7 separate regions of the Homo sapiens genome follow, and regions 2, 3, 4, 5, 6 and 7 are each linked to region 1. Evidence: promoter capture Hi-C in 16 types of primary human blood cells and fetal thymus (Javierre and others, 2016). All regions are on one chromosome and are shown on one strand. The core of a region is centred on a gene start or on the middle of the fragment in contact, and the rest is flanking DNA. Distances in the headings are between cores, read along the strand shown.

Region 1 (3,800 bases), core at 494-2,993:
GCTGGGATTACGGGTGGGAGCCACTGCACCTGGCTGGTTATTTTTTTTGCTTGTTTTTTTGTTTGAGATGGAGTCTCGCTCTGTCGCCCAGGCTGGAGTGCAGTAGTGCAATCTCAGCTCACTGCAACCTCTGCCTCCTGGGTTCAAGTGAGTCTCCTGCCTCAGCCTCCCGAGTAGCTGGGATTACAAGTGTGAGCTACCATGCCCAGCTAATTTTCTGTATTTTTAGTAGAGATGGGGTTTTACCACGTTGGCCAGTCTGGTCTCGAACTCCTTTCCTCAAGAGATCTGCCCGCCTCAGCCTCCCAAAGTGCTGGGATTCCAGGTGTGAGCCACTGCGCCCGGCCCCGGCTGGTTATTTTTAAGATGGGACTGAAGTTGAGGGCTGGGCTGCAGGAGGAAAATGAGCTCCGTTCTGATTTCCACTGTTGGAACCCCAGTGCCTCCCTCCCAGCCACTCTTCAGTTCTTGGCTGCGAGCAGTAGCTTTGCTGTCTGTCCTTGGTTTGCTGTATTTGTAATAAGGAACCTTTGCTATGAAATTAGTGGGATACATTGGCTTCTCCTGTCTAATTTTGTGTAGCTCTGTCTACACAGTTTGGGTCCTAACTTGACTGCTCTGGGGCTGCTGGTGGCAGAGGACCCTGGGGCTTGGGAGTCGTGTCTGCGGTTGAATCCTCTCTGTGGGAGGTGGCCTGTGGTGCAGCCTTGTGGCTTGAAGATCTCTGATGTTGGAATGGTTGCTTGTCAGCACAGACAGGGCATGAAGTCCAGGCTGCGTTCCTCACATTTAGACCATTCTCTTTGTCCTGCCAGGTGTAGGTGAGGGTGCACTAGGTTGGAAGTCGTGGAAACCCACCCACCTGAGCCCAACCCTGAAGGGCACTGTTGAGGCAGAGCCTCAGGTGTGCCTTAGGGCCTGGCACCTTTGCTTTGTGCCATTCTGACTTTGCCTGCCTGGTGGGCGACTTCGTGGGCTTTGTGTTGGAGGTGGCTGCTGCAGTGACCTTGGGCTCTGGGCTCCCTTGTTTACAGATGCTTCCCGCAGCTCTGACGGATGGGCCCGCTGTTGCTCTGAGGAGGGCACGTGTGCCGCTGTGTCCCGTCTGTCTCAGCACAGTCACGGTGCGTGCGCTGGGGGCTGTGCAGCAGGGTCACTCCTGAAGGAAAGTGGGTTCTCCACCCAGACAGACGGCTGCTCCCCAGTGGGGAGCTGGGGGCAGTCCTCCAAAGGAAGGCTGCGGGTAATGCAAAGGGAAAAGGAGAGTGGGTACTGAACAGGCGGCTGGTGAGCATTGCTACCACAGCAGGGCCTGGAGCTTAGGCCTCACGTGTTAGGGGATGCATATCCTGTGGAGAGCCGGTTAGTCGTCCCGGTGTGTCCGGAATTGGTGGGTTCTTGGTCTCACTGACTTCAAGAATGAAGCCGCGGACCCTTGCCGTGAGTGTTACAGTTCCTAAAGGCGGCCTGTCCGGAGTTTGTTCCTTCTGACGTTCGGAGGTGTTCGGAGTTTCTTCCTTCTGGTGGGTTCGTGGTCTCACTGGCTTCAGGAGTGAAGCTGCAGATCTTCGCGGTGAGTGTTACAGCTCATAAAGGCAGTGTGGACCCAAAGAGTGAGCAGCAGCAAGACTTACTGGAAAGAGAGAAAGAACAAAGCTTCCACACTATGGAAGGGGACCCGAGCGAGTTACCACTGCTGGCTCCCGCAGCCAGCTTTTATTCTCTTATCTGGCCCCACCCACATCCTGCTGATTGGTAGAGTCCAGTGGTCTGTTTTGACAGGGCGCTGATTGGTGCGTTTACAATCCCTGAGCTAGACACAAAGCTTCTCCACATCCTCACCAGATTAGCTAGATACAGAGTGTCCACACAAAGGTTCTCCAAGTCCCCACCAGAGTAGCTAGATACAGAGTGTCGATTGGTGCATTCACAAACCCTGAGCTAGACACAGAGTGCTGATTGGTGTGTTTACAAACCTTGTGCTAGATACAGAGTGCCGATTGGTGTATTTACAGTCCCTGAGCTAGACATAAAGGTTCTCCACGTCCCCACCAGAATCAGGAGCCCAGCTGGCTTCACCCAGTGGATCCCGCACCGGGGTTGCAGGTGGAGCTGCCTGCCAGTCCCGTGCCGTGCGCCCGCACTCCTCAGCCCTTGGGTGGTCAATGGGACCGGGCGCTCGTCGGGGAGACTCGGTCCGCACAGGAGCCCACGGAGGGGGTGGGGGGCTTAGGCATGGCGGGCTGCAGCTCCCGAGCCCTGCCCTGCAGGAAGGCAGTTAAGACCCAGCGAGAAATTGAGCGCAGCTCCGGTGGGCCGGCACTGCCGGGGGACCCAGCACACCCTCCGCAGCCGCTGGCCCGGGTGCTAAGCCCCTCATTGCCCGCGGCCGGCAGGGCTGGCCGGCTGCTCTGAGTGCCGGGCCCACCAAGCCCACGCCCACCCGGGACTCCAGCTGGCCTGCAAGCGCATGCAGCCGCGGTTCCCGCTCGCGCCTCTCCCTCCACACCTCCCCGCAAGCTGAGGGAGCCGGCTCCGGCCTTGGCCAGCCCAGAAAGGGGCTCCCACAGTGCAGTGGTGGGCTGAAGGGCTCCTCAAGTGCCACCAAAGTGAGAGCCCAGGCAGAGGAGGCGCTGAGAGCGAGCGAGGGCTGTGAGGACTGCCAGCACGCTGTCACCTCTCACCGGGGTGGAATTTGCGTGGAGGAACGTGCCAGGAGGGCCAGCCCTCGGGTGCTGACCCCTCTGTCCTGGAGGCTACTTTGCCTGCATCTCTGCCACAGTCGCTCATCCCCTGCGGTGGGGCTGCTGCGGTCCAGCACGGCCACAGGCATCCAGTTCCCCTGTGGGACGCCTGAGTGCGGGTCCTTGTTGGTCCGTGTGTGAGCCGCGTGGTGGTTTCACATACTTGATTTGAGGAAAGTGAAGTGTTCTGCTTAGGTCTTTGTCTCAGCCTAGGAAAGAGCTCCATTCCTGGCCCTTTTCTGTGTTTGTCCCACTCACCCACTGTCATTTTGAGCTCCTGGGCCAAGGTTTCATGGGGTTCCTCCCTGGCTCCCCCGCTCTGCCTCTGTGGGAACACTTTCTGCACCCTCGGGTCTTTGTTCCCATTGTCAGTGGAACTTTGAACAGAGCTGGCTGGTTCACCTCGTCATTTCAGCGGTGTGGATCAGCAGGCAGGTTCTGCTGTTGACTGAGTGTTGGGCGGGAGGCCCAGGGCCTGCACTCCCTGGCTGGCGGGCTCAGGCTCTGCTTCCCTTCAGGGTGGCTTGGCCCACCAGGTGGCCTTCAGGGCTGGCCTTGCATGCCCCTGCCAGGTCCGCTTGGTCAAGCCCGCAGTCTCCTCGCCGCTGGCCCCTTCTGTTGACTGCCCTGACCTTCCTTGATGACTGGGGACAGGGTCTTCCTGGATATTTTCGTGTGTCTTCCCGGGCCAGTCCAGTGATGCACTTGTGGATAGGGCTGGTCAATGTGGCTGTGGCCAGAGAGTGGACAACAGACATGTCCACAGCAGGAGCAACATGGTGGCTTGTCTTGGGCTGCTGGTTCCTGGAGCTGCTCAGAGGACCGGTGGGTCCTTTCGAGGTGGGCAGCCAGCCCTTGCCGTTCAGGTTCCCGCAGGGGTGCGTGAGGAACCGTCGGACCTGCTCATTAGTTTATTGACTGTGTTTCTGGTAATGGCCTAAAAGGTTAAGAGAAGAAATGGTTAAAAAAAAAAAGAAGAAGAAGAAGAAGAAAAAGAAAGGGCCCAAAATGTGTACAGAGTTGTCTGTGGAGGAGTGGTTTTGGGTTTCCATGTCC
Region 2 (3,800 bases), core at 635-3,134, 1.8 Mb before region 1:
CCCCAAACTGCTCATTCCTTGTCCAACCAGCTGGCCGAGAGTCACACCAACCACGGGGTGCCAGGCCCCATGCGGGAGGGTGGGGATGTGTGACGGCTGAACACGAATCTGACCCGGGAGGAGCTAGGAGCCTTGTGGGGGACACAGGCAGACAGAGGGGCAGGAGCCCCACCAATCGCCACTCAATCTGCCAAAGGCACTTTTCGGTGGGTGCCAAAGACCCTGAACTTTTCCATTCACTTCCAGAAATATCGTAACACTTGGCCCCAGTGGGCCACGGTGGAAGTCACTTCACCAGAGACCCTCAGGTTGGGGCGTCAGGTTGGGGTGCTGACTCCCAGCCCCTCCCCTCCTTAGGCCAGGCTGCCCATACCACTGCTCCCCCTCAGGACACGGGGCCCGAGGCTTCCACAGAGAACTATGAATGCCCAGAACAGTGAAGTCAGGATATTCGCAACAGAGAGGCACAGGGAAGGGGTCTAGGAAGGGAGAGGCCCAAAGAGAAGGAATGAGGAAGAGGGAGGCTCCTCACTTGGCGAGGGCTAGGGGGCCTGTGTGTGCCCAGGAAGGGGTCTGAGGGGTAGTGAGAAAGGTGGGCAGACAGGCTGGGCGGCATGAAATTCCTGAGCAAGCCAGCAGCCCCTCACCCCCAAGAGCAGGGTGGGCTCCAGCAGGCCCCTGCCCCTGGACTCCAGACTCAACCCCAGCTGACCACTCTGGCCTGGCTCAAGACAACCGTATCTTGACAGCAGGACCCCAGTGGGGACTAGGAGACGATGGCCTAGCCTCCCTCTCTCCTGCTTCCCCAGTGAACTCTGAAGTCTGTGGTCCACACACAGTTAGAAAGCTCTTTACTGGACCTAGATCGGACCGCCTCTCCAGCGCTTCCTCAACCCCAAGTCATTTGCCAGCATAATAACCCCCCCGCCCCACCCCACCATGCACCCTGTGAGCCTGGTCCGGCCTCATCGACTTCACCTCTCCACTTGCCAGTGCTTGCTGGGGTGCGTCAGGCCCCTTCTCACCCCAGGCCTATGTACATCTGGCTCTTTCTACTTGGAATGCTCCTCCTGCATGTCCTGGGACTGGCTGCTTCTCCAACAGGCCTTTGGCTAACGGTAGCGCCGCCCCTACCCCCGGCCAGTACTCACTTTTTCAGCACCCTCTTTCTTTCTTTCACAGCACATACCGCTGCTCCCCATGATTTTAACTACCTATTGTCAATCCCACCACCCTGTCTGTCTAGATGGGGGATGGGGGGAGTTGTTCCGCAGGAGGCATTTGCCAATGCATGGAGACATTTGTTATCGCAATTGAGGAAGGGGTGGTGTTTACTGGTATCTAGCGGCCAGGAGCCAGGCAAGCTGTTCCACATCCTACAATGTACAGGGCAGCTCCTCGCAGCAAAAAGCGACCCGGGCCGCGTGGTCGATGGTGCGGAGGTTGGGGAACCCTGCAGCAGACGCCGAGCACAGGAGAACTGGGACCGTGTTCTCCGCGGTCTCCCGGCGCCCAGAACAGTGCCTGGCACCCGGGAGTCTCGGGGAATGCAGGAAGAAGGAATGAGTAAAGAACTGCGCGAGAACAGGACGGAGCGAGGGACGGACTACTGACTGGCGGACGGACAGCGACGCGGACCCCGACCCTGACCCCGACCCCGACCGTCTCAGCCCCGCCCCCCCCTCCCCGCCCCGGCCCGACCCCTCGCCTCGCCTCGCCTCGCCTCGATCTCCACGCGCCCGATCCCGCCCCACCGCGCGGTCCCGAGGCGCGAGCCCCGGGTCGGGCGCGCCGCGGGGACACTCACCCGCCCGCGGCCGCCCGGGAGCGGCAGCGCCGCCAGCCCGCTTCATGATGCCCCCTCGGCCGCCGGCCGGGAAAGGGACTAGACGCGCGAGCCGGAAGCGCCAGGCCGCTGCGCCCGCCGGGACGTGTAGTTCCCCGCCTCTCCGGGCCCGGACGGCTGCCTCACGCGCCGCACTTCCGAAACTACGACTTCCGGCGGCCTCGTCGTCGCGGGGCGGGAATGGCAGCTTCAGAATCACTCTATGTTGCAGATCGAAGTCTGATTGGCTTTGTTCATCCGTCACTCACCGTTAGGCTTCACGGACTCTGCATAAGGGAGGAGCTTCGGGTCTGGGTCTGAGAGACCGTCTCCAAAAGAAATGCCACGGTACGATTGGTGGAAACAACGCGGCAGGGAGCGGAGCGTACCAGCGGCGGGGGAAGGCGGGCACTTCCGCCAGGATAGCCCAATGACAGAGGTGGGACAGTTTCTATAAAAGCTTGAGCCTCGCCCGCCCCTGTCTTTTCGGGGTCGAGTCCGAGGGGGAAGAGGTTTGTTAATACGTTCGCCATGTGCTACGATCTTGGGACGAACTGAGCCACGAGCGTGGCTTTGAGGGCCGTCCGAACGCTGCAGGCCGGCCAGGTCCCTGGGCGTCCAGGCCTGGCCTACGCACCACTTTGTCCCTTAGCGTTTAAAGGTTTCTTCCCGAATCTCAGGCCCTCAGCTACCTGCAGGTAAGACTGGGCCGGGCTTGGGTTCCCTTATTCTCCCAGTCTGTGATGAATTGCTTTGACTTCTGACACCTCGTATGAAAACTGCACGTGCAGTCTGATTATTTAGCAAGACTGAGGCTTGAGGGTGCGCACTCCTGACGGGGAGCTGAGAGTGGAAACAGGTGTTGCCCGAAACGAAGGAGTGGGGACTTAATGTCTGTATTTTGGCGCTGACTTTCAGGTTTCGTCGCGAGCCGGCTGCAAGTTTTGAACCTAAGTAAACCTCAATCCGGAGGGCCTAGCGGTAAGGTGGGCGCTGTGTCTATTGAAGTGCTTAGCAATAAAGAAAGGTAGTGAGTTGATTCGGTTTTCTCTCAAGTGTCTTTATTTTCCTATTCTGGCACCCCAGAGGTCTGGCTGATCCACAGGCAATCTTGGAAAAGGGTACAGACATGAAAACGGAAGCTCGTTACCAGTGACTTTTCATCTCTTGGGATTGCCTTCTCCATTTCTGCCCGTGATTTTTTTTTTTTTTTTTTGAGACGGAGTTTTGCTCGTTTCCCAGGCGGGAGTGCGATGGCACAACCTCCACCTCAAGCGATTTTCCTGCCTGAGCCTCCCAAATGGCTGGAATTACAGGCGCCCACCACCACGCCCGGCTAATTTTGTATTTTTAGTAGAGACGGGGTTTCTCCGTGTTAGGCTGGTCTCAAACTCCTGACCTCAGGTGATCTGCCCACCTCAGCCTCCCAAAGTGCTGGGATCACAGGTGTGAGCCACCACGCCCAGTCAAATACTGTTTTTCATGCCTTTTGCCCCAGGGTGAGTCCAAAAAGGCTTTTGAGATTTGTGGAGGGAAGTTGACACCACCTAGGGTTCCCATGTGCCTCCTTAGGGAGGCAGCCATGGGCCATGGAGGAATGGTAGCCACACACCTGCTGAGGGTTCTGGGCCTTGCTGAGTCTCTCAAACTCCAGCATCCTGCTCTAGAAGTGGATTTTTTTCAACAGATGAGACAGACGCTCCAGAAAACACAACTTTATTCACTAGGACTGAAAACAAAGGCTTGTGCAATCAAAAGGCCAAGTTGAGTGCAAGGTGGAGCGTGCTCGGAAATCACAGACCTCACCTGTGGCCAGGCCGGGCTGGCAGTTGTTGTTTCTGGTGTTTTCTGTGATTTCCCACATTTTATCACAAGGCCACAGGCATCCTCCAAGGTCAGTGAGGAAGACCCTATTGCTGTTTGAGCCAGAGCCTCCTAGAGGGTGGGCCGGGAGCAGGCAGCTCCCAGGACACAC
Region 3 (3,800 bases), core at 394-2,893, 1.6 Mb before region 1:
CGGGGTTGATTCAAGCCAGGTACTCTGCACCGCGTGGGCCCGTGGAGTCCCCTCAGAGCCCACTCAAGAGTGTGGGAACAGGAGCCTTCACCTGGGCCCGCGATTCCCAGGCTGGAGCCGGAACGGCGAAGGGGAGGTGAGAGTGCAGCAGGCAGAGCGGGGCGGGAGGGAGGGTATGGAGGCAGCGGAGCTGTTGCTTCCTGCGCGGTTGGGAACTGTCTGGCCTGTTTTCTAGCATGCAAATAGGGTGACGGGCACAGCTCATGCAGTGCTGGGACAGACATGTCCACCCAGCTTCCTGCACGTGGTGGGTACCCGAGGGATGACAGCCCCCACGTGACTGATTATTAATATCACCTGTAAGTGTTTGGGCTGAAAAGATGACACCGTTGACCTCTGAGGTTCCGTCAAACCTCAATGCCTCCTGCCCACCAGTTCCGGGAGACAGGCATGAGGGGGACCGCAGTCATTTTAACCAGCGCTGCACGGGGCAGCCCTGTGTTTCCAAGAAACGACCTCCAGCCTCAACCTCATCCCTTCGCTCCTTTCCCGCTCCAGCTCCGAGAGTGGAGCCAAGGGGGAAGCCGGGACATGCACTTGTCCCCAAGAGTGGGCCACAAGTCGGGACGTGCGCTCGGACCAAAACGCAGCGTCCTGCCTCCCGGTCTGGTCAGAGCCACTCCGCAGGGGAGGCCAAAGCCCCTGCCCCACCGTGGGCACCGCCCTCCTCCAAGACAGGCGCCGAGGTGCGGCTGGCCCAGAGGTTGCCACCTGGACAAAACCCAGAGCTCGGCACCCAACTGCCACCTCCCCTGCCGGAGGGAAGGAGCAGCAGGGCCCTCCCAGGGACGCCCCAGTGGGCTAGGCTGCTCCCAAACCTGCCTTCCACACCGCCGCCAGGAAGCCCTCCCAGCCCAGAGCCTCTCCTCCCTCAACTCACAGCTGGAACTGGGGGCCAGGGGACAGGCTCCCTGCCAAGGAGACCCGAGGGTGTGTGTGCGGGGGAAGGGGAGGCGCTTCTCGGTTCCCGTAGCCCCCTCCTGCCCCTCGGAGAATTCCGTCCCCACCCCGTCCCTGCTTCCAGGTCACGAGAACAGGAAAAACGGAGTAAGGGCTGCGGAAAGGGACTGAAATTAGACCCGGGGAGGAGGTAGGGGTAGAGGCGACCGGCGGTGACCTCTCAAGGTCCCTCTCCGGCGCCGCCGGCCCCTCCTCCGCCCGCAGGTGGGCGCGCCCTGCCCGGTGACGTCACCCCAACCTGAGGCCGGCGGGGGAGGGGCCGGCGAGGATGAGAGTGAGTGAGGTCGGGGGGCGAGAAGCAGGGGGCAGGGGGTAGGGGGCAGGGGGCTGGTAGGGGCCTGAAGGTCGCGAGGCAGGGGCGGGAGCGGGGGCCCGGGCAGGGACCACTCACCCAGGACGCGACCCGGAGCAGGGTCTGGGGCCGCCGCGCAAAGCTCACGGGGTCCAGGGCGGCCCCTGCGCGGCCCGCGCCGAAGGAGGCGCCCTCCATGGCCGGCCCGGGCGGGACGCGCGCCCCTGGCGCCTTCTGTCCGCCTGTCCGTCCGGCCGGCCCCGCCCGAGGCCGCTGCCGCTGCCGCTGATGCTGATGCTGATGCTACCAACGCTGCAGCCGCTGCCGCCTCCCGGGAGCGCGCGCCGGCCGCGGCGGGGACGCGCGGGACGGGGCGGGGCCGCGCCCGCGCCCCCCACTGGGTCCATGCGCGCGGGGCCGGGTCCCTCCTCTCCCTCCGCCGCGCCCACCTCCCATCCCCCACCCTCACCTGCCTGCCCCGGTCCCGAGATGGAGACCATCCTCAGGAACCCACCAGCCAGGTCCCCGGGGGCAGGGTGGGGCTCGGGTGCTGGGCGCAGACTTTGCTAGAGCCGGGAGGACAGACAGGAGGAGTCCGCTCCTCTGGGAAGGGCACTTGGGTGAGGGAGTAAAGGGGTAGGAGGTCCACGGGCTGCAGCATCTTCCCCCAACCCACGGGAGAGGGGACCGGCTCCCTGGCCCTGGTCCCAAGAAGACCAGATGGATAACTGGGGTCTTTCTCATGGCCCCCCACTGTGCTCTAGCTGCTATCACAGCTTCTAGCCTCTGGCGGGGAGGATCTGGTGGGAAGAAAGGCGTTGGCCCCAGGAGCACCTGTTGAGGGAGGGGACAGAGCCACCGTGGCCAGCGCCGCTGGGAGTGTTGGTTTCGGTGTCTCCGCTCCTTGCCCGTGGCCAGGTGGTGGTGCTCCCAATGCCCTCCCTACTCCTGGGTCTCCCCAGCGTACTTGCGGCGCCTAGTCTGGAATGGAGGGCAGGGAGCGGCATCAGAGACTAGGAGTCGGGTGGGGGTGGTGCCTGGCTGCCCTGTGTCCCGCTGAGTCCCCTCCACAGACCCCAGCCTTGGGTGCAACAAGGTCCCTCTCCTCATGTTCCTAGCAGGCTGGAAGTTCAGATGACTCCTAGGTTTCTGTCTAGAGCACTGAGATGTCTGCACTGACATTTACAGCGCCAAGCGCTTGACCTGTGTAGTGGCGGAGACTGTTACCACCCTGTACTTCAGATAATAAGCAACCCAGGTCCCTGCTACACGAGCCGGGTGCACAGATGGTGCTGCGTGGCCCAGCCCCCCTGGAGCTCATTCTTCAGCCTTGCTGGGCACAGGTGGGCAGAGCAGGTGTTGCCAGAGGCGCTACTCACTGTGTTCCAAGTCCATCACACTGTGCGTCCGATCACAACCCCTCTCACCTGTTGGCCACAGACCTCCCCTCTGTGTCATTCATTCTCTACTTCATCACTAACATCAGCACCCAGACATGCTGCACTTTCTCCTAAAAGCCAAACACTGTTGACCCCACCTCCCCTCCAGCTGCCTTACGTTACTGCTTCCTTTAGCAGCAAACTCTGCCTGCAACACCCTCCTCTCTCTCCCTCTGACCCGGCAGAATCAGCTCCCACCGCCACCTAAACTCAAGGTTGCCACTGACCTCTCCGTGCCAATCCCAAGGGCAAGTCTGATGCTGCTGTCGACTCATTTATTTCTTTAGTTATTTATTTATTTTTTGAGTTACAGTCGCACTCTGTTACCCAGGCTGGAGTGCAGTGGCGCAATCTTGGCTCACTGCAAGCTTTGCCTCAGGGGCTCAAGTGATTCTCCTACCTCAGCCACTGGAGTAGCTGGGATTCCAGGTGTGCCACCGCACCCAGCTAATTTTTTTTTTTTTTTTTTTTGTATTTTTAGTAGAGACGGGGTTTCGCCATGTTGACCAGGCTGGTCTCGAACTCCTGACTTCAAGTGATCTGCCCACCTTGGTTTCCCAAAGTGCTGGGATTACAGGCGTGAGCCACTATGCCCCTCCTGGAGGTCCTCCTCCCTCATGGGTCCTTCCTCTGTGACCTGTGAGCCTTAGGAGCCCAGGGCGCGATCCTGGGGAGGTCTCTCCCTCTGTGCTAACTCCTTTGGTCTGCGTGTCAACAGCTCTGGAACACCAGCTCAAGCCAGAACTTTTCCTTGCACTAGAGTTCCACTGGCCTGGATGCCTTCAAAAACAGACTCTGGCCTGGCGCAGTGGCTCACGCTTGTAATCTCAGCACCTTGGGAAGCTGAGGTGGGTGGTTCATGAGGTCAGGAGTTCAAGACCAGCCTGGCCAACACAGTGAAACCCTGTCTCTACTAAAAATACAAAAATTAGCAGGGGGTGGTGGTGGGCGCCTGTGATCCCAGCTGCTCGGGAGGCTGAGGCAGGAGAAATTGCTTGAACCCGGGAGATGGAGGTTGCAGTGAGCCGAGACTGCTCCACTGCACTCCA
Region 4 (3,800 bases), core at 893-3,392, 1.6 Mb before region 1:
GGGGACAGAGAGGTCTCAGCCAGGCAACATTCAGCACCCCCCGCGGCCTCTGGCTGCCCGCCCCACTGCCCTTCCCCAGGCTGGTACCTGTGCTTTTCCGCCCTTGTAGAAAGGCTCAATTTTGCGCTCCACAGCATAGCTGGAAGGAGAGCGGGAGGCGAATGAGCACCACCCACCCCCTCAGTCCCCAGGGCCCCGCCCTGTGCTAGGTGCTCCTCTCCAAGTGACCCCAATGGCCCCTGCCCTTGAGTTTCTGGGCAACAGCAGGGACAGGGCATGGGGTGGAACCAGCAGTACTGCAGGGGGCTGTAGCTACCGTCGTCACTGAGAAGTAGAGACCCGCAGCTGGCTGGTGATCCCTGAGGCAGTAGGGGGTGGGCCTGTGTCAGGTGGAGTCAGCCCAACAGCCCAGGGCTTCCAGGGATTCCCCAGTGAGAGCCAGGGGGCTCCTTGGGAACACCCCTGCCGGCGGTGGGTGGCCAGGCCTGGGTAGCCAGCCCAGAGCACATCCTCCCAGTGTCTTCATCCCTGAGGTCTGGCATACCTCTTCCCCTCCCTGACTCCTCTCTCCATCCCCAGGCTTGCCCAGAGCCCGGGTCCCACGAGCAGCTGTCATTTCTGTGACCTCACTCGTGCCCCTTCTCCTTCCTTCTCCACTGCCTCCACCTGGTCCAGCCCATCACAGTCTCTGGCCAGCCACTCTGGCCTCTTCACTGGACCCCCTACCTACCTCTTTTTACTTATTTATTTTTTGAGAAGGGGTCTCGATCTGAGAAGGGGTCTCCAGCCCAGGCTGGAGTGCAGTGGCACGATCTCAGCTCACTGCAAGCTCCACCTCCCGGGTTCACGCCATTCTCCTGCCTCAGCCTCTCCGAGTAGCTGGGACTACAGGTGCCCGCCACTGCGCCCAGCTAATTTTTTGTATTTTTAGTAGAGACGGGGTTTCACCGTGGTCTCAATCTCCTGACCTCGTGATCCGCCCGCTTCGGCCTCCAAAAGCGCTGGGATTACAGGCGTGAGCCACCGCGCCCGGCCTCCCCTACCTACCTCTTAACCCTGCTGCCAGGTACCTTTCAGAACATAACTGAAGATGTCACTGCCCTGCGTTAGCCCCTCCCTTCTGCCCACACACCTCCCAGACCTTGCCCAGAAGAGCCTCTGCCACCCTTGCCTCTGCTTTCTTTCCTTCTCATGGCCCACAGTGCACCCCACTGCTCCTGTCCCAGCCTCTGGGACGGGTTTCCTATCTTCCCCCTATTCCCTGTACGCGGCCTGGGCTTCTCTTCCCAGATGTCAAGGCCTGGCTCACTGCGCTTCTGGAAGCCTGACTGCCAAAACGAAAGCGGCCCCTCAGCCCCCGCACCCAGTTGACCCTCCCACGACGGTGCTGCCAGCCTGGGACTTTCCTTTACCAGTGCTTGGCACAACCAAAGCCCCACAGCCGCCAGTGGAAACGATAATCCCATGAGGCTGCGCTGCCAGGGCGGGGGCACCAGCACTGCTGTTCGGCAAAGGCTTGGGGAGTGACGGGGCACAGCACTCAGGGCCTCCTGGGCTTCTGCGGACCCGCCCCTCTCCTGCATTCTCCCTGCTCCCTGGAGAAGACGGATCGCGGATGAAAGGTCCCCAGGCCGACTGCTCAGAGGTGGTTCTTCGCCCCCGCCGCCTCCCGGGACCAGCCCCGACCTAGGCTCAGCCCTCTCCTCCCCTCATCGGGACTTCTGGTCCCCACTCCACCCCATAGCCGGCTTCTCGATGAGCCCACGCTGCTGCTCCCGGCGGCCGGGCTCCGATCGCCGTCCTCCCCGAGAGCAGCCGGGGCCGGCTCTCCCGCCTAGTATCACCGCAGCCTCCGCGACCCCGCGGGCCGGCGCACACACAGCCTCTCGCCTCCACGGACCCCAATGCGTGCCCACCCCACGCGCGCCTCCGCTATGCCGGCTGCAAACCCAGCTCCCTCCCCGCACGGCCCCAGAGCTCCGGGCTCACTTGGTCTTGAAGCGGCCCACTCCGGCCGCGGTCTCTGCCATGTTGCCGCCGCCGCCGCTCCAGCTGAAACCTGCTAGGGTCCCGGCAGCCACCGCCGCGTGAGGGAGGTTAGCACCGAACTCTTCACAGAACGCCACACTCCCGGCGCGCTGCGATGGCGTCACCGCGCGCGACCACTGTGACGTCCCCGCCGGCGCCGCGCACTTGGCGCCATCTTTGCTTCGGGCAGTGGCGGCTGCATCGGGAAGCGGAAGCGGGCGGAGACGTTTCCGGCCTGGAGGGAGGGCCGTGAGCTGTGAGGGTGCTTCGCGGGTCGGTGGGGGTAGACCGGCGGATGTGGCATCGCTGGTGGCCTGGCTCTTTGATACCAGTATAAAAAGGCATTTGTAGCCAGCGTTTACTCCTGCTTTTCGGCGTTCTGGGATGTGGGGGTACCAGCTGTCGGGTGCGGTCCGTGCGTAGAGCCGTCAACCTGACCCTGCCCCTGGGCTCGCAGTGTGGCTCTTGATAAATAACGTAGGTAAATGAATAAACCGGGTAATCTCAAAGGCATTCATGTATTGAGCACCTTCTGTGTGCAAAGCACTGTAATCGGCACTTGGCGGACACCAGAGAAGAAACAGAACGGGCGACGAGTGATAGTTGCTGAGCGCGATGGAAAAAGGAGGAGGGCCGGGCGCGTTGGCTCACGCCAGTAGTCCCAGCACTTTGGGAGGCCGAGGCGGGTGGATCACCTGAGGTCGGAAGTTCGAGACCAGCCTGACCAACGTGGAGAAACCCCGTCTCTACTAAAAACAGAAAAAAAAAATTAGCTGGGCGTGGTGGCACATGCCTGTAATCCCAGCTACTTGGGAGGCTGAGGCAGGAGAATCGCTTGAACCCCGGAGGCGGAGGCTGCAGTGAGCTGAGATTGCGCCACTGGACTCCAGCCTGGGTGACAGCGTGAGACTCCGTCTCAGAAAAAAAGAAAGAAAGAAAGAAAAAAAAACAGAAGGGAGGGAGCGGAAGGGAGGAAGGAGGAGGCTGTATTGAGAAGGTGACGCCTGAGCAGACACAAGTTCGCGAAGCAGGGAGCCCTGTGGAACGAATGGTGTTGAGAACAGCCAGGGCACAGGCCTAGGACTGGGGGTGCCAAGCATTGAGTAGCAACAAGCCGGGTGGCTGCAGGGAGTGGGTGCAGAGGGCAGAGGGCATGCAGTTGCCTGTGCGCCGTGGCGAGGAGTTAGCTTTTACTCTGAGTTCAAGGTTTTGAGCCATTTGTGCTACTGGCTCTGAAGCTGGTAGAAAGTAACAGCCAGGCCGGGCGCGATGGCTCACGCCTGTAATCCTAGCACTTTGGGTGGCCGAGGCCGGTGGATCACGAGGTCAGGAGTTCGAGACCAGCCTGGCCAGCATGGTGAAACCCAGTCTCTGCTAAAAATACAAAAATTAGCCTGGTGTGGTGGCGGGTGCCTGTAATCCCAGCTACTCGGGAGGCTGAGGTAGGAGAATCGCTTGAACCCGGAGGCGGAGGTTGCAGTGAGCCAAGATCGCAACGTCACTGCACTCCAGCCTGGGCGATAGAGCAAGACTGTCTCAGAGAAAAAAAAAAAAGTAACTGGGCCAGTCTGGGCATCATGGCGAGACCCTGTCTCCACATACACACACACACACACAGAAAATTTAGTAGGGGTGGTGGTGTGCCTGTAGTCCCAGCTACTCTGGAGGCTGAGGTGAGAGGGCTGCTTGAGCCTGGGAAGCTGAGTTTCTAGTGAGCTGTGATTGGGCCTCTGCACTCCAGCCTGGGCAACAGAGACCCTATCTCAAAAAAT
Region 5 (3,800 bases), core at 432-2,931, 1.6 Mb before region 1:
GCATCTGGAGAAGGAAACGCCGGAGACCTCGGGAGACTTGTAGGCTGTGTGGGGTGGATGAACCCTGAAGCGCACCGCACTGTCTGCCCCAATGTCTAACAAAGGCCGGAGGCGACTCTTCCTGCGAGGTCTCAGAGCGCTGTGTAACCGCCCAAGGGGTTCACCTTGCCTGCTGCCTAGACAAAGCCGATTCATTAAGACAGGGGAATTGCAATAGAGAAAGAGTAATTCACACAGAGCTGGCTGTGCGGGAGACCGGAGTTTTATGTTTTATTATTACTCAAATCGATCTCTTTGAGCATTTGCGGAGCAGAGGTTTTTTTTTTTTTTTTTTTTGAGAGAGTCTTGATCTTGTCGCCCAGGCTGCTGGAGTGCCGGGGAGCAGAGTTTTTAAGGATAACTTGGCGGGTGGGGAGAGCCAGTGAGCCAGGAGAGCCGATTGGTCAGGGAGGAAATCACAGGGAGTCAGCTGTCTTCTTGCGCTGAGTCAGCTCCTGGGTGGTGGCCACAAGATCAGATGAGCCAGTTTATCAATCTGGTTGGTGCCAGCAGATCCATCAAGTTGCAGGGTCGGCAAAATATCTCAAGCACTGATCTTAGGGGCAGCTTAGGGAGGGTCAGAATCTTGTAGCCTCCAGATGCACGACTCCTAAACCATAATTCCCAATATTGTGGCTAATGTTAGTCCTAAAAATGCAATCTAGTCCCCAGGCAAGGAGGTGGTCTGCTTTGGGAAAGGGCTGTTACTGTCTTTGTTTTAAACTATAAACTGGCTGGGCGCGGTGGCTCACGCCTGTAATCCCAGCACTTTGGGAGGCCAAGATGGGCGGATCACCTGAGGTCGGGAGTTCAAGACCAGCCTGGCCAACATCGAGAAACCTCGTCTCTATTAAAAATACAAAATTAGCTGGGCGTGGTGGCGCATGATTGTAATCCCATCTACTCGGGAGGCTGAGGCAGGAGAATTGCTTGAACCAGCGAGTTGGAGGTTGCAGTGAGCTGAGATCGCGCTACTGCACTCCAGCCTGGAAACAGAGTAAGACTCCGTCTCAAAAGAAAGAAAGAAAGAAAGAAAAAAACAAAAAACTATAAACTGAGTTTCTCCCAAAGTTATTTCAACCTACCAGCAGGGATGAATAAGGACAGCTTGGAGGTTAGAAGCAAGATAGAGTCGGCTGAGTTAGATCTCTTTCACTGTTTCAGTCATCATTTTGCAAAGGCGGTTTCACCTGGGCGCGGAAAGGCTGCATGACCTCCGGCAGCTCCGGGCTTAGTACCAGGGACTGGACTGGGGGGACACGACCCTACGGATTCGCGCCGTCGCCCACCTGGCCAGGCCCCATGTGCGCCCCTAGCCACCAGGGCGCGAGGGGCGGCAGGGGCGGGGCCTTGGGGAAGCGGCCTAGGGGTGGTCCCTGGGAGTTTCCATGGGCGGGGCCTGCTGGGGAGATGCGATTGGACTGGCACCGGGGGGCGGGGCCTTGGGGAAGTGGCCCAGGAGTGGTCCCAAGGAGTCAACGTGGGCGGGGCCAGCTGGGAAGATCGTATTGGACCAGCCCTGAGGAGGGGCGGGGCCTCCCGGAGGCGGAAGCCGGGATTCGCCCTCCGGGGAGCGATTGGTCCTCGGGAGGGGCGGGGAGGTGGACGCGGGTACCGGCGGTCGTCGGGTCGGCAGCCTTTGGTCAGTTGGCAGCGGCAAGCGCGCTGCGGTTCCGGTGGCGCCATGTCGTTCTGCAGCTTCTTCGGGGGCGAGGTTTTCCAGAATCACTTTGAACCTGGTTGGTCCTGCGGCCTCTCGCTGGGAGGGCAGCGCGGCGGGGGGCGCGCATTAGCGGGGGCGCCGCCGTCGTCCGGGGGTGATGTCTCTCCCAAGCCGGGAATGGGGGCGAATGTGGCTGCCGGGGAGAAGCGAACAGGGGTCAAAAGGACTGCGGAGGAGTGGGGAGCCTGGGGGCGAGGAGAGTGGGGTACCCGAGGAGAGGGGGCCTTGGGGCTCACCGTCCTGGAGGGGGCAGGCCTCGAGTGTGAACGTGCCGTTTCGGGGGTGGGTCTAAGGGATCGGGATACGTGGGGGTGGTACCCCTTCCCTACCCCCTACACTCCAAAGTGATGGCGCTGGGGGAATTCGGGTTAGGGTCGGGGCTTCGGAGAGGCCAGGTTCTTGTCCAGGGCCAGCTCCTGTGGCCGGGGCGCCCCTTCGCGGGTCATCCCGCAGGTGTTACCCTGGCCCTTCCCATTCCCCCGAGTCCGGGATCTCTGGGAGGAGTCTGGCAAGCATAGAATGTCCCCTTCAGATCCTAATGTGCCGGCCCAGGTGCCTCCCCACCTGCCCAGGGACTCCAAATTGGGGAACCAGGAGTGCCACCAGGCACCTGCCAACAGCCCGTGAAGTTTGACCAGGCAGGCAGGATGGGGTGGTTTGGGGCATGGCCAGCCCTCCACACTGGCCCTGATGAATCCCTTCTGGGCTGGGCTCGCCTGGTAGTGGACTAATTTGGTAAAAACACATCCACAGGCAAGTCTGAGTGCACTGGTCTCCTTGGGCGGATCTGCTGGGTGGCACCCCTGTAGCGGGTTGGGCTGTGACACAGGACCATCCCGGCAAAGCCTCCCCCAGCAAGACTCTCTGGCTTTAGATCCCAGTTGTCCTCAGGCTGCTCTGCCAAGCCAGAAACTCCACTTCCACAGCAGCTGCTGGCTTCTCTTTGCTTTTTTCTCCAGTTCCTGGAAAAGGCTGGGTAGTTTACAGTCTCCAGGGGAGGCTGTCCCCAGGTGATGGGTGAGAGGTGACTCAGCACCCCTGGAGGTTCCTGTTTTCAGTCCTTAAAACAGTTCTGCAAGTCAGTTTTGCAACTTTCCCACCCCCTCCACTCCAAAGGGATCCTTTGTGGGTAGGCTGAAATCTGTTGTCCCCAGCCCTCTTTCTTCCTGGGCTCCTGTGTGGCCTGGAGGCCTTTTCTCTGGGACTGTTCTCTTCCTGCCTGGAGAGCAGAGCAGTGCCTGGGTATCCAGCTTAGGGCCTCGTTGGGCAGCAGGGAGGACCACTTGAGAAAGGAGAGGGACCAGGTGGTTGGGCCACATCAGGGCCCCTGCCCTCTATGTTCCTGGGGGAACTAGGGGGGCGAGGGGGAGCTCCGTGTCCTCATTGGACTACCCAGGTTCCTTCACGCTGCACACACTTGTAGCTGAGTGTCTGCATCACCAAGCAAAGATGGAAATGTTAGGATATGCCCCGTCACGGGGCTATGAGAAGAATCAAGGAGATAATTGTGAAAGGTGACTCCCCTGGTCTCTGGCACATCTACTAAACGTGAGCTCAGCACAGCGCCTCCCGTGGCGGGTGCCTGGGGAAGGAGCACAGCCTACCCTCGGAACGGGGGCAGCGCTGTCTTTGCCTGGGTTGGTGGATTTGGGAGCTTGACCCCGGAAAGGCGGGAGCTGATGACTCCACATTTGCCTCTCCTTCCACCACAGGCGTTTACGTGTGTGCCAAGTGTGGCTATGAGCTGTTCTCCAGCCGCTCGAAGTATGCACACTCGTCTCCATGGCCGGCGTTCACCGAGACCATTCACGCCGACAGCGTGGCCAAGCGTCCGGAGCACAATAGATCTGAAGCCTTGAAGGTGAGAGGCCACAGGGGTGGGGGAGGGACGGGGGCGGCCAGGGAGAGCAGAGAGCCAGTCCCACCTTCCTCCCTCTGCTTGCCCCACAGCTCCAGGGGCTTAGAGGCGTCTATTCCAGGCCTGTTGCCTCTGCCAGGGAGCTGCCACCCCAGGCTATCGGGAGAGCCTGGCCTTCTG
Region 6 (3,800 bases), core at 916-3,415, 1.6 Mb before region 1:
GCGGAAAGGCCAGGAGATGGAAATGACCATGCTGGGCTGGGCAGGGGGCTGGAGGAGCCATCACGGAACCAGTGCTGGAATTTCAAGTCCTGAGTAGGGACTGCTGAGACCGTGGGGATGGCTGAGACTGTGGGGACGGCTGAGACCGTGGGGATGGCTGAGACCGTGGGGACTGCTGAACCTGTGGGGACTCCTGAGACCGTGGGAACAGCTGAGACCGTGGGGACTCAGACCGTGGGGACGGCTGAGACCGTGGGGACTCCTGAGACCGTGGGGATGGCTGAGACCGTGGGGGCTCCTGAGACCGTGGGGACTGCTGAGACCGTGGGGACTCCTGAGACCGTGGGGATGGCTGAGACCGTGGGGGCTCCTGAGACCGTGGGGACTGCTGAGACCGTGGGGACGGCTGAGACCGTGGGGACTCCTGAGACCCTGGGGACGGCTGAGACCATGGGGACGGCTGAGACCGTGGGGACTCCTGAGACCCTGGGGACAGCTGAGACCATGGGGATGCTGAGACCGTGGGGACTCCTGAGACCGTGAGGACTCCTGAGACCGTGGGGACTGCTGAGACTGTGGGGTGGATGCTGCAGGGTGGGACCCCAGCCCCCACCCCGAGCCAGCCCGTTGGGAACAATACCGTTTCAAGCTAGACCAGAAGAAGAATTTCCTGTGACCCAGCATAAGCCAGCATGCTCTCCTCGCATTGTGCCCGCTGCCTGCCCACGGGGCTCCTGCAGAGGCTTGCCCAGATGAGCAGGTGCAGCCCGCATGTCTGGAGCCGGGGCTGGGGGACTGGTCAGTGGTCTTCACCCCGTCAGCCCCGTGTGGCCCCCTCTGGCCAGGGCTGCTGCTGGGTAGGAGCTCCGGAATGTCTGTGGGTCGTGGAGGCCTTCGGCCCCTTGAGGCAGCCCGGCTGCTGGGACTTGTCCAGATGCCATCAGGGCTGGAACGGCTCATTAACGCAGCAGAGCCCAGGACAGGGGCCGCAAGCCCTTGGCTGGGAAGAGGCTGGGCCTCTGCCGGGAGCCTGTGCCGTGCCTGCCTGGCGCCAGCCCTGTGGCCAGGAAGGCTGGGGCAGAGGTGGAGAGAGGACCCGGGTCTCATACCACCTTTGCCTTCGGATGGGGCAAGTTGCTCGCCCTCTCTGAGCCCGGCTCGCCTCCCCTGCCTTCCCTGCAGGCTGCTGCTGGGCGTTGGGGATGTGAAGTTCCCGCAGTGTCTAGCGGCCCCCGCAGGTCCCACCCGAGAGGCCCCTGAATCTCACGCCCCTCAGAGGCAGCCCCTGGGGGAGGTCCTGGGCTCCTTCTCTTCCCCAGCACAGGGGTCCCTGAGTCCTTTGTACTCCAGTGGGGTCCACTTTGCCAGCTTCCGAAATGCATCACTGATGTCTCTGGGCAGTGCCAGGTGGACCAAGGCTGGGCAGATGGGGTGACTTAGTAGACAGAGTATGTCTCAGGCCTGAATTCAGTTCACCACTGGGCCCCTGGGAGGGAAACCTATTTTCTCTGAGCCTGTCCCCTCCATTCTAAAACAGTAACCAGAGGTGACTTGACCTCTCAGCGGCCAGGCTGTGACCCGATGTGTGACTGTCAGCTGGGAGTGCAGGACGCACGCCATTCCCGGCCGCAGACTCCCCCCACACGTTCTGGGATCCCTCTCTGCACACTAGGGTGCTGTCCCGGCCTCTTTCTCCCTTGGCAGGCCGAGTGCCCGGATCGACGCTTTTCCTGGGTCCCCTTGGCCTGGCGATGAGGCTCCCGCTCCTGCAGGCCAAGGCTTGGCCTATGCACCTGCCGCGCACGTCCCGGAGTGGGGTGGGGGGGGAAGGGGATCGGTCTTCAAACAGAGGGTCCCGAGGCCCGCGCGCCGCCCTGTCCCTGCCCTGCGTCCCGAACGGCCACCGCCGCCGCATCCTCCCCGCGCAGAGGTGAAGATGCCGGAGTCAAGCGAGCCAGGGCCTGGGATCTCGGAGCAGGAGCGTCCTGGTGGTCCCGGCAGCTCGAGTCGCGCCCGGGTGGTGGCGGCTGCCGGCGGGTCCAGCCCAGGCAGTGGCCTCGGAGGCGGAGTGGGCGGGGGAGGGGGAGGGGGGAGGGCGTCCAGACCCCGCCCCCGGTCCCGCCCCGCGCCCGCTCCCAGGCTGCGGGACCGCCGGGCGCAGAGCACAAGCCGGGCACCCACGGACTGAGCGGCGCGCGGGCCGAGATGCGCGCCCGCCTGCTGCCCCCGCTCCCGGGCCTGGAGCGGCGCGACCCCATGGCAGGTAGCGGCGGCCTGGGCGGCGGGGCCGGGGGCGGCCAGGGCGCAGGGGCCGGGCAAGGGGCCGCTCTGCGGGCGTCCCGCGCGCCGATGCTGCTCGTGGCCCTGGTGCTCGGCGCCTACTGCCTCTGCGCCCTCCCCGGCCGCTGCCCGCCGGCCGCCCGCGCCCCCGCGCCGGCCCCCGCGCCCTCCGAGCCGTCCAGCTCCGTCCACCGCCCGGGAGCACCCGGCCTGCCTTTGGCCAGCGGTCCCGGCCGCCGGCGCTTCCCGCAAGCGCTCATCGTTGGCGTGAAGAAGGGCGGCACGCGCGCCCTGCTGGAGTTTCTGCGGCTGCACCCCGACGTCCGCGCGCTGGGCTCTGAGCCCCACTTCTTCGACAGGTGCTACGAGCGCGGCCTCGCCTGGTACCGGTGAGCACCCTGGCCCGTCCGCCCTGACCGGCGCCTTCCTGGGGAGGGTATCGTGCGCCCCAGGGAGCAGCGGCACGATATCCTGCCTCCCAGGGAGCAGGGGTGCGCTCCGGGCAGTGGGGTTGGGACCGCCCTGTGGGGGCCCCAGGCTTGACCTGGGGTCCCGGCTCCGGAAGAAGGAATGATACTTGGCTAGGATTCCCTGAAACTTTGAAAACTGTGGGGAAAGCCCCGGTTCCGTTCTCTCTGCTGAGGGACCCAGCAGGACTGGGGGAGGCGGTGGCTTCCCAGCCCAGAGGTCGTTTCCAGCCCGTGGGATTACCTGGCAGCGTCAGAAATGCCTCTGCCGCCCGCTCACTCTGGGCACTCAGGTGTGACCGACCGCTGGCCAGGTACTGTAGAAAGGGGCCTCCAGGTTCCAGGCAGCCACCTAGAAAGCGTCCTTCCTCCCCAAGACCCCCGAGTCTGCGCACAGGAACCCTTGTTGGTGGTCCTGGGAGTCCGGAGAAAGTCTGGGCTTTGGAAAGGAGGAGACTGCCTTTAGGTGAGTGCCCAGGGTGAGTCCAGCCCCGTGCATGGGGCTCTGTGGCTGTCCTGCCTCTACCCAGGATGGACGTGGGGGTGCGGCAGCCTCAGCTGAAGCAGCCCGCGCTGGTGGCTGCTCATCCCCAAGCTTGGACCCAGCGCCTGCAGAGAGGACCCTGCCCAAGGCCAGTTGGGGAGTCAGTGGGGGTGGCAGGACCCAGACGCTTCTCCAGGTGCTCCAGTTTCTCCGTTCCCGATCCTCTGATCCTCTTCCTTCCCTGACGCCTACCCCTATTTGTTAACTTTGCCTTTTGTACTAAAACTACTCTTGGGTTTGGAGGGCAGGCAGGAAGGGGCTCCGTGAGAATAGGGTGGCTCGCTTCTGAGATCTGAAGGGCTGGTGCCAGTGTGGGGTGCTGGGGAAGTCAGGTGGTGGCTAGGGGACATGGAGTCCATCCCGGGGCTCACCTGGCTGAATTGGGCATCCTCAGCTCAGGCTCCAGGGAGAGACCTCACTCCCCTGACGGCAGGCAGGGGTCAGAATGCATCCCTAATCCCTGCTGCAGGGAGGAGGGTAGGAGGGGCTACCAAGCTAGAAGCTGGGGA
Region 7 (3,800 bases), core at 801-3,300, 1.5 Mb before region 1:
TCTTCTAAAAAATAACATCTATTTTTAAAATTCTATTAGACAATTCTCATATCAACTTTCTGTAAAGGACTGACAAAGATTCTTCTATACTACATTTTTACTTTTTTTTTTTTTTTTTTTTTGAGACGGAGTTTTGCTCTTGTTGCCCAGTGGAGTGCAATGGCACGATCTCGGCTCACCACAACCTCTGCCTCCTGGGTTCAAGCAATTCTCCTGCCTCAGCCTCCGGGTAGCTGGGATTACAGGTGTGAGCACCATGCACCACAACTCCTGGCTAATATTGTATTTTTAGTAGAGACGGGGTTTCTCCATGTTGGCCAGGCTGGTCTCAAACTCCTGATCTCAGGTGATCCACCCGGCTCAGCCTCCCAAAGTGCTGCGATGACAGGCACGAGCCGCCACCGTGCCCAGCCCTTTTTTTTTTTTTTTTTTTTTGAGACAAGGTCTCGCTCTGTCACCCAGGCTGGAGTGCAGCGGCACAATCACAGCTCACTGCAGCCTCAACTTCCCTGGGCTCAGGTGATTGTCCCACCTCAGGCTCCCAAGTAGCTGGGACTACAGGTGAGCCACCACCCCTGGCTATTTTTTGTAGAGATGGGATTTCACCATGTTGCCCAGGCTAGTCTCAAACTCCTGAGCTCAAGCAATCCATCCGCTTCCACCTCCCAAAGTGCTGGGATTACAGGTGTGAACCACTGTGTCTGGCCCATTTTTACATTTTCAAAAAATGTATTGAATATTATACACATAGAAGTGCCCAAGCCATCAGTGTACAACTCAATGAATTTTCACAAAGGTGACCATTTACCATTGCTCAGACCAAGGAACAGAAGGTAACCAGCACCCCAGAACCCCCCTCACTCCCCTTCCTCTGCCTACCCCTCCTCAGCAAGAGTAACCACGACTGGACCTTGTAAAGCTATGTATTTGTTCTGCTTATTTTTAAATCTTATGTAAATGAATCATAGATGATCTCACACTGCATTTTAATAGACACCACCATTCTCTTTCTCCTCTCTAGGGCTTTCAGCACTTCTCAAATCTTACAAGTTGTGAGAAAATGTATCATTCTTTTACACTCAACTGTGTCAAACATCCTAAATAAAGTTCCCAAACCCAGGAAAGCCAGGGACTGTCTGCGATTTGCTGTTCCCAAACCCATGAAACCCAGGGACCGTCTATGATTTGCTGTGGCTTCACCTGTATGGGTCCAGGTTGCTCACGCCCACCTGTTCACCCTTATGAGAACCCATCACATTAAGAAGATGGAAAACAGGCCGGGTGCAGTGGCTCATGCCTGTAATCCTAGCACTTTGAAAAGCTCAGGCCAGGATCACTTGAGACCAGGAGTTCAAGACCAGCATGGCCAACATGGCGAAATTCCATCTCTACTGAAAAAACAAAAATTAGCCGGGCGTGGTAGCACATGGCTGGAATCCCAGCTACTCGGGAGGCTGAGGCAGGAAAATCGCTTGAACCCGGGAGGCAGAAGTTGCAGTGAGCAGAGATCGTGCCATTGCAATCCAGCCTGGGCCACAAGCGCGAAACTCTGTCTCAAAATAAATAATAAAAGTTTATCATATTTTATTATTTAGTCATAGCTTATTTAGACGATACTTGTATTGATTTGCCCACAGAGTCACTCTGGGTTGAGACAGAAAGCAGTCAGAAGCAATTCGTGCTCTCTGTTGGCATTAGCGCTAAGAATAAAATAAGTCAATACAGTCGCTTCCACAGTATGACAAAAGGTTCCGTCTTGATCAGTCATTTTCTGACCCAAGGTCACAGCTCTTGCAAAATTTTACTGTAGCTCGACAAACTCTCCATATCAACTCCACATTACAAGATCTTTCGTTTCTTCAATTAAACAACTGGAAATGGATACCATCCATGCTCTCAGATTTATGATGTCAATAAAGCCCATTATGATCACACCCTGCTGTTGAAAAATGGGATGGCAGGGAACTGACAGGCTGTTTTTAGGTCACCGTCTTACACAATACCAACCGCCCATCAGGTTGTTTCAAAGGCTTTCAGCCACTGACTAATAGAAAAAGAGACTGCATACAACGTTTCATTCATGTTTTGCTAGGCTAGATACATTTGTTGTAGCGGTCTCATATTTGTAAGTCCGTGGAAAAACCTGAAAGTATTTTTTTCTTGAAAATTTTTTTGAAAAAAAAGGTATTCTTTGTACAATAACTATAGAGAAAAGATGTTAAAATGTCACAACAGTGATTCCATATAAATTCAGTTTCTTTTTTTTTTTTTTTTTTGAGACAGGATCTCATTGTGTTGCCCAGGCTGGAGTGCAGTGGCGCAATTTCAGCTAACTGTAGCCTCGACCTCCTGGGCTCAAGCGATCCTCCTACCTCAGCCTCCTGAGTAGCTGGGACTACAGACAAGCTCCATCACACCAGGCTAATTTTTGCATTTTTTTTATAGAGACGGGGTCTCACTCTGTTGCCCAGGTGGAACTCAAGCTCCTGGGCTCAACTGATCCTCCCTCCTTGGCTTTCCAAAGTGCTGGGATTACAGGCATGAGCCGCCGCATTCAGCCCAAATTCACCTTGTTTTTCTTTTTTCTTGAGATGGAGTTTTGCTCTTGTTGCCCAGGCTGGAGTGCAATGGCTTGATCTTGGCTCACTGTAACCTCCACCTCCCGGGTTCAAGCGATTCTCCTGCCTCACCCTCCTGAGTAGCTGGGATTACAGGCATGCGCCGCCATGCCCAGCTAATTTTTTGTATTTTTAGTAGAGATGGGGTTTCACCATGTTGGCCAGGCTGATCTCCAACTCCTGATCTCAGGTGATCCACCCACCTCGGTCTCCCAAAGTGCTGGGATTACAGGTGTGAGCCACTGCAGCTGGCTCAAATTCACTTTTAAAGTATTATTTTATGATGGGAAATACTGATAGAGGGTACATGTTGCATTTATAAGTTTTAATATAATTTTTCATTTATTAACTCATTGGACAACCCAGTAAAATGTCATTAGGAGTGAGAATCAGGAATGATGGATTCACGGTCTAGTTGCAAGACTCATCACAGGCCATTAACCTCTGAAAAGCCTTTATCTGCTTCGGTGAGTGCTTCCAGAGTTTGCAACACGAATATATGTCCACGAATATAAGTTTGATATGATAGTGAGAGTCTGCCTATTCAGAAGAAAAAGTTGCCCAGCTGGATTTAGTTTATCTTCGTCTCAGTGTTCTTTATTTTAATTTTAAAATATTTGAGTATTAAAGATTGAATTCTATTTGGGATGATGGAAACATTCTGGAAATAGACAATGATGATGGTGATACAACCTTATTAATGTACATAGTGGCACTGACTTACGCCCTTAAAAATGGTTTAGGCCAGTCGGGCGCGGTGGCTCACGCCTGTCATCCCAGCACTTTGGGAGACCGAGGCGGGTGGATCACCTGAGGTCAGGAGGTCGAGACCAGGCTGGCCAACATGGTAAAATCCCGTCTATACTAAAAATACAAAAAATTAGCCGGGCGTGGTGGTATGTACCTGTAATCCCAGCTACTCGGGAGGTTGAGGCAGGAGAATCGCTTGAACCCCGGAGGTGGAGGTTGCAGTGAGCCGAGATCGCGCCACTGTACTCCAGCCTGGGTGACAGAGTGAGATTCCATCTCAAAAAAAAAAAAAAAAAAGTTTCAGTGGTACATTTTGTTATGCTTTTTTTTTTTTTTTTGGTAGCGACAGGGTCTCACTAATGTTTCCCAGGCTGGTCTCAAACTCCTGGGCTCAAGCATGTTAGCATATTTTATCACAATTTAAAAATAAAG

The links. Contacts are between HindIII fragments. The CHiCAGO score rates a contact against its expected background, and 5 or more counts as called.
Region 2: a contact is called between the fragment with the promoter of TRAF7 here and a fragment that was not itself captured in region 1, in 6 of 17 cell types (naive CD8 T cells, M1 macrophages, total CD8 T cells and 3 more). The highest score is 9.9, in naive CD8 T cells.
Region 3: the fragment with the promoter of SYNGR3 here is called in contact with a fragment that was not itself captured in region 1 in 12 of 17 cell types (naive CD8 T cells, total CD4 T cells, M1 macrophages and 9 more); the score reaches 33.8 in naive CD8 T cells.
Region 4: the fragment with the promoter of TBL3 here is called in contact with a fragment that was not itself captured in region 1 in 14 of 17 cell types (naive CD8 T cells, erythroblasts, M1 macrophages and 11 more); the score reaches 60.2 in naive CD8 T cells.
Region 5: a contact is called between the fragment with the promoter of MSRB1 here and a fragment that was not itself captured in region 1, in 15 of 17 cell types (M1 macrophages, erythroblasts, naive B cells and 12 more). The highest score is 67.3, in M1 macrophages.
Region 6: the fragment with the promoter of HS3ST6 here is called in contact with a fragment that was not itself captured in region 1 in 8 of 17 cell types (M1 macrophages, naive CD8 T cells, erythroblasts and 5 more); the score reaches 29.9 in M1 macrophages.
Region 7: a contact is called between the fragment with the promoter of LINC00254 here and a fragment that was not itself captured in region 1, in 1 of 17 cell types (M1 macrophages). The highest score is 6.6, in M1 macrophages.

What each region holds. Positions count from the first base shown.
Region 1 is chr16:339,967-343,766 of GRCh38, reverse strand. All of the region lies in intron 2 of AXIN1 (axin 1), which reads left to right. Among named protein-coding and RNA genes, the nearest start is that of AXIN1, 11 kb to the left of the region's middle. RefSeq lists enhancers at 1,751-2,302, 3,585-3,800. The HindIII fragment of the contact is 169 bases long and covers 1,659-1,827 here.
Region 2 is chr16:2,153,866-2,157,665 of GRCh38, reverse strand. TRAF7 (TNF receptor associated factor 7) reads right to left here and starts at 1,884. Exons shown (of 21, transcript NM_032271.3): 1 at 1,808-1,884. It overlaps SNHG19 (small nucleolar RNA host gene 19), which reads left to right and starts at 2,308. Exons shown (of 2, transcript NR_132114.1): 1 at 2,308-2,523; 2 at 2,744-2,884. It overlaps SNORD60 (small nucleolar RNA, C/D box 60), which reads left to right and starts at 2,561; the gene lies at 2,561-2,643. It overlaps RAB26 (RAB26, member RAS oncogene family), which reads right to left. Exons shown (of 9, transcript NM_014353.5): 9 at 3,501-3,800. RefSeq lists enhancers at 111-694, 695-1,276, 1,200-1,339, 1,350-1,449, 2,320-2,519 and 1 more and a silencer at 1,750-1,839. The HindIII fragment of the contact is 6,190 bases long and covers 1-2,287 here.
Region 3 is chr16:1,987,813-1,991,612 of GRCh38, reverse strand. SYNGR3 (synaptogyrin 3) reads right to left here and starts at 1,643. Exons shown (of 4, transcript NM_004209.6): 1 at 1,412-1,643. The coding sequence starts at 1,510. RefSeq lists silencers at 104-183, 1,224-1,343, 1,424-1,513 and an enhancer at 2,106-2,685. The HindIII fragment of the contact is 15,217 bases long and covers 1-3,121 here.
Region 4 is chr16:1,970,395-1,974,194 of GRCh38, reverse strand. TBL3 (transducin beta like 3) reads right to left here and starts at 2,142. Exons shown (of 22, transcript NM_006453.3): 1 at 1,990-2,142; 2 at 88-139. The coding sequence starts at 2,030. RefSeq lists enhancers at 1,817-1,956, 2,017-2,356. The HindIII fragment of the contact is 11,738 bases long and covers 1-3,800 here.
Region 5 is chr16:1,941,080-1,944,879 of GRCh38, reverse strand. MSRB1 (methionine sulfoxide reductase B1) reads left to right here and starts at 1,681. Exons shown (of 4, transcript NM_016332.4): 1 at 1,681-1,778; 2 at 3,475-3,623. The coding sequence starts at 1,724. RPL3L (ribosomal protein L3 like) reads left to right here. Exons shown (of 10, transcript NM_005061.3): 10 at 1-906. The coding sequence ends at 43. LOC124903625 (a long non-coding RNA gene) reads right to left here and starts at 2,086. Exons shown (of 2, transcript XR_007064940.1): 1 at 1,999-2,086; 2 at 247-1,895. RefSeq lists a silencer at 1,208-1,707 and an enhancer at 2,892-3,781. The HindIII fragment of the contact is 19,007 bases long and covers 1-3,800 here.
Region 6 is chr16:1,916,780-1,920,579 of GRCh38, reverse strand. HS3ST6 (heparan sulfate-glucosamine 3-sulfotransferase 6) reads left to right here and starts at 2,165. Exons shown (of 2, transcript NM_001009606.4): 1 at 2,165-2,669. The coding sequence starts at 2,257. RefSeq lists enhancers at 1-384, 385-946, 947-1,510, 1,511-2,072. The HindIII fragment of the contact is 9,727 bases long and covers 1-3,344 here.
Region 7 is chr16:1,882,481-1,886,280 of GRCh38, reverse strand. LINC00254 (long intergenic non-protein coding RNA 254) reads left to right here and starts at 2,050. Exons shown (of 3, transcript NR_033914.1): 1 at 2,050-2,184; 2 at 2,985-3,085. The HindIII fragment of the contact is 12,471 bases long and covers 1-3,800 here.